Regions from separate parts of the Homo sapiens genome. Here all the other regions are linked to region 1. Evidence: promoter capture Hi-C in 16 types of primary human blood cells and fetal thymus (Javierre and others, 2016). All regions are on one chromosome and are shown on one strand. The core of a region is centred on a gene start or on the middle of the fragment in contact, and the rest is flanking DNA. Distances in the headings are between cores, read along the strand shown. Region 1 holds the start of SLC17A5 (solute carrier family 17 member 5). Region 2 holds the start of FAM135A (family with sequence similarity 135 member A). Region 3 holds the start of SDHAF4 (succinate dehydrogenase complex assembly factor 4).

Region 1 (3,096 bases), core at 406-2,905:
TACATTTGTCCATCTCAATCTTTATTGAGATGTATAACTTTTCTATCCACATCTCTGCTAACATTTGGTATTATCAGCCTTTTGGATTTTAGCTATTCTAGTGGGTGTATAGTGCCTCGTTGTAATTTTAATCTGCATTTTCCTGAGAATAATGTTTAACATTTGTGCTAAATTTTGATTATACATATACATATTTTTCAATTGTAACAATGTAATAATCTCTGGCAAATATCTTTATTATAACTTTTATTTCTGTATTTCTATATTATTTTATGAGGAATATTATACAATTTGAACACTACAAGCCACAGAAAATGATCAGTTTATGGAACTAAGTCCGACTTCCAGGTAAAACGTAACTATGGTATGGTATTTACAGTTTGTGTTGACTAAAATAAGCTCCCGGCTGCCAGATGGAGCTATAAGGTTGCCACCTCTACTGCCACCATCTGGTAACATTAAAAACAAATAAAAATATAGAAACTATACAATTCTGGGTTAGCCAAAGTCAAATTTCCAACACAACTCTTTCTCACGCACAGATCTTTGAAACTATAGAATGCATTCAAACTGATTTGTTCTTTAGTTTTCGTTACTTTTAAATAAACTATATTACAAAAGTGTCAAATAGCAAAATATTTTAATTTTCTCAAATTCAGGGAAGATGCTTTATGACGTACCTGCTTTTCGATTTGTTCCAAGACCTTTGGCAAATTACTTTAGAACTCCATAGGTATCTTGAGGATAACTGAACCTTTTCCTAACTTAAATCATAGACTGCCAGACGGAAAAAAAATGTCCTCGATGTTTTTAGTCTCTTACTGCACAATGTCAAGATATCAGCTGGGTTATACAATAGTTGCCCTCTGCATACTCACAAATGTTAACTCCAGTCCTTTTTTGTCTTCCCTCCCCGCCTAAGAAGCTACCAGGTCACATGCTGGCGGATACGCAGTGGCGGAAACCTAGCGGTGACAGGGAAGGACAGCCCTCTGCCTACTGATCTGCAGGTTTCTCCTCCAGTTTGCTCTTACACCGGGGTCCTCCGCTCGGACCTTAGCCCATTCATTTGATGATTCTCTCCCAGTTCGTTCTTCCACTGGGTCCCTTGCTCAGCACTACCCAAAATAACCACCAGCTCAGCGCCGGCTGCACCGCCGCTCCCCCGCCCCCGCCCCCGCCCCCGCCCCCGCCCGGTGGGGCTGCACCTGCCGAGGCCCCGGCTCGGCTCCGCGATCACGGTCGCGGCCCCCGGGGTTCCCGAGGGGCTTCTGCGCACCGAGGCAGGCGGGACTGAGCGGCACTCTGAACGGGCTCCCCTCTTAATGTCCCCTCGCGCCTGAGCAGCTCCGGTCCCGCCGGCGCAGGGTGCGGGTACCCGGGCCATGCCGGCCCAGAGACCGCCGCCCCCGGTACCGCTGCCCACTCGAAGCCCCTGGACGACCCCGCCGCTTACCGGCTTCGGCCCGTGGGGCGCCCGGTAGAAGAGGCGTGCGGTCCGTGCTCTCCTCGCCATCGTTCCGGGCCAGGTCTCGAACCGGAGACCTCATGACGCCTACGTGAGCAGGTGTACTCGCCACCTGGCAGAGAAGGGAGCGCCGGCCCGACAGCCCGAAGCCCCCGGGCCGAGCTGGCTGGACCGGGCGGGGCGGGGGCGATGACACCGCCCCGCGGCCACGTCTAGTCCCCGCGGTCCCGCCCAGAGGCGGCCGCGCCGACTCCGCCCCCGCCGCCATCTTAGGTGTGGGCAACTCTGGCTTGGGTTGGACTAGGGAAGCGGAGTTCTGGGAGTTCTCGTAGGATTGGCGCAAAGTGAGCCCGCTCCGCCCGCCGGTCTACGCATGCCGGGGAGCCGGTGTTCGGACGACCGTCTCCCGCTCCTGCACCCCCTTGTAAAGTGCAGGGGCCACCCTGCCCGCAGCGAGGATGAGTGGGGGCTTGCGGGCGGGCAGTGGGGACTTGAATTGCACATAATTAAGGGGAGGGCTTCGACCGAACTAGGGAAGTGGGTGGTGTGCATTTCACAACTTGACATTCGCTTGTTAGCGGTCAGTTGCCATACTGTTAGCAACCTTTGTACGATCTACCTCGTGACTGTGGCGGCATATTTACCTCGTGACTGTGGCGGCATATTGTCCCTAAAATAGCTTTTTTTTTTTTTTTTTTTTCTCCCAGGCAGGGTCTTGCTCTGTTGCCCAAGCTGGAATGCAGTGGCGCAATCGCAGCTCACTGCAACCTCCAACTCCTGGACTCAAGCGATTCTCTTCAGCTCCCCCAAGTAGCTGGGACTACAGGAGCATGCCACCACATCTGGCTAATTTTGTTTCTACTTTTTATTTTTGTAGAGGCTTGGTCTTATTATATTGCCCAAGCTGGTTTCGAACTCCTGGGCTCAAGCAATCCTCCTCGGCCTCCCAAAGTGCTGGGATTACAGGCGTGAGCCACTGCTCCTGGTCCTAAAATAGCTTTTAGGCGGAAAAACAGCAATGGAAATTTGTTGAGTCCTATGATGTTGCTGGTTTTATAGGTAAAAGTAATCAACATAGGTAGTTTCATATGGTTCGACCTATGGAATCCTCTGATGTATGTGTGCATGCTTTATCTCCACGATAGAATTTGGATAGATTGTGCTAGCATTTGCGGACTCTGAAAGTGAAACTAGGAAAACCCAGCTTGCCTTGGCAGGGCAGATCTGGATCCGCCAATAAAGGCTGTCTCTGTGGAGGTAGAAAATAAGATGTAGATGCTCTCGGAGAGTTTGGTGTAGACAGGGAAGACCCACAAGCCACTAATTCAGTAAACCAGGTTAGAAGCTTAGTGAGGTTCACGTGAGAACAAAGGGGAGGGTCCTTTACCTAGAAGGGAGGGCGAGGATTTCTGTAGGCATCCCTACCTCCAGATCAGTAAATGCTAGAAAAGTTCTCAAGTTAAAGCAGCAAATCAAGCCTTGTTTCTGAGTTACTGAATTACCATGTAGATTTTTACACTCTCTAAGGGTTGTAGAAAAATGCAATTTTCAAACTGGATTATGCAGAGTCACCTGGCAAATCCTTTTAAAATGTAGATTCAGATTCAGCAGATCTGGTGTGATGGTTA
Region 2 (3,096 bases), core at 230-2,729, 3.2 Mb before region 1:
GGTATAGGGCTATAAAAGAAGGGACAAATTAGAAATCAGGAAAGCAGGCCATTCATACAAATGCAAATAAATTGGTTCACAGGATAAGAGGACACCCAATCATGTAAAAACTGGTACAAGCCAGGCACGGTGTCTTAGGCCTGTAATCCCAGCACTTTGGAAGGCCAAGGCGGGTGGATCACCTAAGGTCAGGAGTTCGAAACCAGCCTGACCAATATGGTGAGACCACGTCTCTACTAACAATACAAAAAGTAGTCAGGCGTGGTGGTGTGCGCCTGTAGTCCCAGCTACTAGGGAGGCTGAGACAGGAGAATTGCTTGAACTCCGGAGGCAGAGGTTGCAGTGAGCCGAGATCACATTACTGCACTCCCGCCTGGGCGACGGAGCAATGCTCTGTCTCACACACACACTCGAAAAAAAAAAAAACTGGTACAAAGATATATTCAAAACCTGTCCCCTAAATGGCCTACGTTACAAGACCTCACCATTACTTTCAAATGAATGCACAAAGCTTTTCCCTTCTAATTCATTCTTATTGTGGTAAAATATACATAACAGAAAATTTACCATTTTAACCATTTTTAAGTGCACAGTTCAGTAGCATTATGTCCATTCATTGTTGTGCAACCAACACCACTATCCATCCTAGATTCATTTTTAAAACAAGAGTCGCAGCTGAAATTTTCCTTTCATTAACTCAGCTTTAGCAACATACTGAACTTTATGCACCACAAAAGTTTTTGCCAGATAAGGTTCAGAAACAGGGAAGAGTGAAATAAATCAATGATCCTTCGTGGGCTTCTGTTAACGGAATGTATTAGCGAAAGGCTTCACTTCATCAGCCCCCTCCCGCCCTTTTTGGCGTCATAAACCAAGAAACAACCAGATCAGCACCCACATCTCCCAAGATGCAAACACTGGGTCCCGAAAGGCATCTGTCCTGCCCCGGCGCAGATCCCCTGCAGCCTCCTTTCCTACTGCACAAATCGACTAGCGCAGGGACCGGGCTCTCTACCCGGGACTGCACGGAGGAGCTAAAGAGAGAAAAGGAGAAACAACATTGTGAGAAAAACGGCTAAAGTTCTCGAACTCCGTGTTTTTGCCCTCTTCTTGTTCACTACTCTTCAACCACCTCCAAGTTCCATCCCTTAAACCCACAAGCGAGCCCCTTTTCTTGACGCGCGCCTTTTATTGACGCAAACCTCCCGTTCTCGCGGGAACTTGGGAACGGGAGCCTGGTAGGGAGGACAAATCTCTCGAAATCTCAGTTGGCGCTGGAGCTGGAGGGGCAGTTGAAGCTCCTGAAGGGCGGGGCACGGAGCTTGAAGGGGCGGGGCCTAGCCTCAGAGAGGGGAGGGAAGAGGCGGGAGGAGGAGGTGAGAGAGGCCGGGGGCGGGGCCGTGCGGCCGGGGACCTGTTGATCGCAGGTATAGCCGGCTGGCCCGGGCTCCCTCGGGACTGGGGCGACTGCGCATGCTCGCTGGCCGCGCTGGGCCAGTAGCCGAGCCGCGGTGACGAACCGGCTCCGCGGTTGCGGTGTTTGCGGTTGCTGTGATGGCGATGTGAGGGGGCCCGGGGCGGGATGGTGCTGACCCGGGTCGGGCCGTCTTCTTGCAGCTGGACAACGAGCTCCTCCGTTCGACAGGCGGGGGAAGAGGCCGAGCCGGGCGAGAGGTAACCCCCTTACTGTCCCCTCTGGCTCCCCCGGCTCCCGACACCCACGACCCCTCCCTCCGTCCCTCTTGCCCAGGGGCCAGGAAGGAAGCGGCCTCCTCTTCGTCCGCCGTTCGCCCGCCGCGGCCCCTCACCCGACTGCTGGCGGTCGGAGCCTGGCCCCGGCCCCGTTGAAGGTCGGTGGGGACGGCGGTGCGGAGCGCTCTGAGGGAGGCGAGGGGCCGCGGCGCGCTGCTCTCCCGGTGCCCGCGGCCGCCCCTGCCCCTGCGCGCGTCCCTCGACCCGTTCTTCCTGAACCTCGCGCCTAGCGTGTTTGCCCTTCACCCCTGCTCCATCTTCGTCGCTCTGTCCCTCCTTTACCCGCTTTCGTGGTTCTGCTTTTTCATCCCGCGCCTCCCACGTGTCTTTTTGCCCGGGTGGTCCCTCCTTGGGAAGCAGCGTATCTCTGTGCTTCCATCCCTTGCCTGGCTCTTCCCTGTCCGGAGCTCCTTACCCTGGCCGACCAGGTTTCTCACTCTTGTTACCTCCATAATTTCTTCCTTGGTTTTATTTTCCTCTCATCCACCTCCTTTCGGTACTTCCTCCTGGTTCCCTTTTTGTTAGTTGCCGATTGTGTTTTGCTTTAGCATCGCTTTGCATTGGAGTTCATTCCATGCCCCATCTTAGCTTCGGAAACCCTCACTGCCTTCTCTTTCCTCTGGTACCCTGCTTCATCGCTTTCTGTCTAATGGCCCCTATCCTCACGTCCTTTTCCATTCTGCACCCAGTGAGTCTCTAATCTTAATTTTTTCCCCTCCAAAACTCTTCCACCCTCCCCCCCCCATTTGTATAAGTCAAGCCTCTTAACTTCATTCCATTTGTTTTACTTTTTATTAAATCTCTGAAGACTTCTTTGTGACATACCCTTCTAGTCCTTGCTGCTTTCTGCCTAAGCTAGGTATCCACTCAATGTTTCTAGTTCATCTTCCAGTTTAATAACATTTCTTCTTTCTTTACCGGTTGGTGGAAGTATCATCAAAAGAGTGACAGTAGCAACAAATCGGTTACACTTACTGATTAAAGCTTTAATTTTTAAGAATTATGTTTACCTGGCATGCCTGGGAAAGCAACTTGAGTACAGACTAAATGAAACTATAATGGGTTAAGACTTGTTAAAGGTTGACCTACAAACATACACTTAAAATTTGGAAATTTTCTTGTCCTCCATTAGGTGTAGCTGTCCAAGAACTAATCTTAAATGAAATTTAACAGAATTTCTTTTTTAAAATGTATTATTAATTTGTTTTATACATTTGCTATTGCAATTGATTGCATAATTTTCCTGAGAGTCTCTGTTCTCTAATAAATGCATACAATTTCTGCTACCTTTAGAATTAGTGTGCTTATAGGAGACATACGTGAGAAGTATTAAATTTTTTAATT
Region 3 (3,096 bases), core at 420-2,919, 3.1 Mb before region 1:
TCCAAAGACCCAGTCCAAAACTTTTACATTCCCAGTTCCCAGCCACTTGACAAACCAGTCACTGCCTATGAAATGTCGATTTTTATCTCAAGCCATGTCTCTTTTTAGGCAAAGCATACAAGATAAGCTAAATTCTGGCCAGGCACAGTGGCTCACACCTGTAATCCCAGCACTTTGGGAAGCTGAGAGGGGTGGATCCCTTGAGGCCAGGAGTTTGAAACCAGCCTGGTCAACATGGCGAAACCCTGTCTCTACTAAAAATAGAAAAATCAGCCAGGTGTGGTGACATGTGCCTGTAAAAACATAAAATACATAAATAAGCTAAATTATGCATGCTGGAAATAATTTTTTTTCCCTGTTCTGTTCCTTCAGGGCCTCTGTTAAGTGGGGCTCTAAATATGAAAAGCAGTCAGTTGCCAGCTGGGCCAGTTTATTGAGCAAAGCCATCATCCGACTTTGAATTTTTTCCTCAGTCAGCTAGTCACAAGGAATTCATTATTAAACTGTAGATATAAGCTAAAGGTCAAAAGCATGATATTAGGACTGTGAGCTCCCTACAAATGAAAACTGTTTCCGTTTTGACTTTGGCCCAGTTCTGTGTATCCCACTTTCTCTCTTTTTTCTTTTTCTGTTTTTGAGATGGAGTTTTGCTCTGTCTCCAAGGCTGGCGTGCAGTGGCGTGATCTCTGCTCACTGCAATCTCCGCCTCCCGAGTTCAAGCGATTCTTCTACCTCAGCCTCCCAAGTAGCTGGGATTACAGGAATGTGCCACCTCGCCCGGCTAATTTTTGTATTTTTAGTAGAGTGTTGGCCAGGCTGGTCTCGAACTCCTGACCTCAGGTAATCTACCCGCCTCGGCCTCCCAAAGTGTTCGGATTACAGGAGTGAGCCACCTTGCCCGGCCCACTTTCTCTTCGTAAAAGGATCTCCTTATCTAGGAGAACCAGATAATTCTCAGTTCATGATAAGAAGCTTCGATCGTATAACCACTTGATGTCACATGGTCAGACACTACCAAGGCGCAATAGCTAGCCAGAAACTTTTCTTTAAAAGAAAAGACAAAATTCCAGAATTCTGGGGGCCTTCACTATGATTCTGTAAATATTTCCACGAGTTGCACAAAGCATCCAGGTCTGCCACATCCACTCAACGCTATCAGAGCTGGTGGGATGTAAGGGTTAAGGGGCAGAGCTCATTGCACTGGATCCTGGCCTGGATGGAGAGCCTTTTCTTGCTTTGCACCTCATTCAAAAATGTCGCCTTTCATATCATCTGGTTAGTCGGTCAGAATGGACGAACTAGGAGCTGACTGAACAAAGATTTAAAACACAAAACAGGGAGAATTAGGTAAAAGAAGCATTTTACATGAGTGAGAGAGTAAAAGGTGCTCAATCTTTGTAAACTATAAAAGGGATCTTCCACGGGCCATTTCGGCTCAGACTGACAAGCATGAACGGAACGGAATTATTCCCTCTTCTAACTGCAGCCACGATTTGGCGTTTTAACACCGGGCTCAAGGTAGCCTGGGTCTCTCTTGGCCAAAGAGCCCAGGGATGCCTCTAACTCCTTTTCTAAAGCCGGCCACGGAGGCCCCGCCCTCTGCAGGGAGGCTCCGGATCATGCCCCCTGCTCCTCCCACTACTGCTTTGCGCCTGCGCGGAGGCTCGGGGAGTCGGCGCCATGACCCCATCGAGGCTTCCCTGGTTGCTTAGCTGGGTCTCGGCCACGGCGTGGAGAGCGGCAAGTAAGCACCTGGCCTCGGGGCCACGGTCGCGGGAGGGGTCGTGAAGGCCCAGGCGCAGAGAGAAGCGCCTCCCGCGGAGGAAGCCGCGTGTGTCCTGGCCGTTCGGTGTTGCCAGGGGCTGCCCAGCTTCTCCCGCCCAGCCGCCCACCCGGTGGCCTGGGCAGGTTCCTGCAGCGCCCCGGGTCTCGGGTGGGACTAGAGCGAGAAAATCGCTAAGGCCCTTTCAGCCCCCGGGACGTCCGCTTCCTACCGAGCACGCGGTGGCCCAACAGGACCACAAACGTTCCGGGTTGTTCCTGTGGGAGCTCGCAGGGCACACCGCACTTCGATGCCCCAGAGAAAAATGGAAAAGAAGGCCCTTTGGGAATGGGAGTCATTGATTTACTTATTTATTTACATCATTATTTACAGGAATCCGCGCTCCTGGTCCAGGCTCCAGCAGAAAAGGATTTGTGGCAGTTTACAGTTTATCTTTTAAAAATGGGAAAAGTGCAGAAGTGAGCCAAAGGCAAATAAGTATAACGTAAATTAGATGAAGCCAGGAATTGTCAGTACAGAAAAAGCATTCATGCTTTCAGTAAAACCAACATTTTTAAACCCATTGTTGTTGGAAATTTTTCTCAAGATAATACAGTTAGCAGCCCAGACTATGCAAAACATAATTTTATTTATTTATTTATTTATTTGTTTATTTATTTTGAGATGGAGTCTCGCTCTGTCCCTCAGGCTGGAGTGCAGTGGCGCAATCTCGGCTCACTGCAAGCTCTGCCTCCCAGGTTCACGCCATTCTCCTGCCTCAGCCTCCTGAGTAGCTGGGACTACAGGCGCCCGCCACCGTGCCTGACTAATTTTTTGTATTTTTAGTAGAGACGGGGTTTCACCGTGTTAGCCAGGATGGTCTCGATCTCCTGACCTTGTGATCCGCTCGCCTCGGCCTCCCAAAGTGCTGGGATTACAGGCGTGAGCCACCGCGCCCGGTCCGCAAAACATAATTTTAATATATGACACCTGGAGAAGTTATGTAAGTTGAAAACAGTAATTATTGCCCTCAAATGGTGCCAGATTTCTATGCAATTTGTTTTCCTTTGTGCAATCATTTTACCCAAATACAAACATTTTACTTAATTGTATAAGTTTTAAATAGTCCAGAAATGAATAATACAGAAAGTGAAAGTCCTACATTATCCAAACCTCAAGGTAATAACGTTAAAATTTTGTAGGGTTCATTCAACATCCCCCTTTAACTAGTTTTAAACAATTATGAATTATTCCATATATATATATGTATACACACACACACACGTAGCACACATGTAAGCTATGTAGCAGTCATGTAAGCTATGAAGCACAAC

What was found. The method cuts DNA at HindIII sites, captures the fragments that hold promoters and counts their contacts. A CHiCAGO score of 5 or more calls a contact.
Region 2: the fragment with the promoter of FAM135A here is called in contact with the fragment with the promoter of SLC17A5 in region 1 in 5 of 17 cell types (activated CD4 T cells, non-activated CD4 T cells, total CD8 T cells and 2 more); the score reaches 8.4 in activated CD4 T cells.
Region 3: the fragment with the promoter of SDHAF4 here is called in contact with the fragment with the promoter of SLC17A5 in region 1 in 1 of 17 cell types (total B cells); the score reaches 7.5 in total B cells.

What each region holds. Positions count from the first base shown.
Region 1 is chr6:73,652,337-73,655,432 of GRCh38, forward strand. SLC17A5 (solute carrier family 17 member 5) reads right to left here and starts at 1,656. Exons shown (of 11, transcript NM_012434.5): 1 at 1,457-1,656. The coding sequence starts at 1,550. RefSeq lists a silencer at 1,102-1,771 and an enhancer at 2,771-2,860. The HindIII fragment of the contact is 4,556 bases long and covers 1-2,811 here.
Region 2 is chr6:70,412,029-70,415,124 of GRCh38, forward strand. FAM135A (family with sequence similarity 135 member A) reads left to right here and starts at 1,480. Exons shown (of 22, transcript NM_001162529.3): 1 at 1,480-1,674. FAM135A-AS1 (FAM135A antisense RNA 1) reads right to left here and starts at 1,930. Exons shown (of 2, transcript NR_147708.1): 1 at 1,809-1,930; 2 at 800-1,034. RefSeq lists silencers at 1,287-1,506, 1,847-1,996. The HindIII fragment of the contact is 2,225 bases long and covers 510-2,734 here.
Region 3 is chr6:70,565,261-70,568,356 of GRCh38, forward strand. SDHAF4 (succinate dehydrogenase complex assembly factor 4) reads left to right here and starts at 1,670. Exons shown (of 3, transcript NM_145267.3): 1 at 1,670-1,744. The coding sequence starts at 1,681. RefSeq lists a silencer at 1,958-2,017. The HindIII fragment of the contact is 5,796 bases long and covers 971-3,096 here.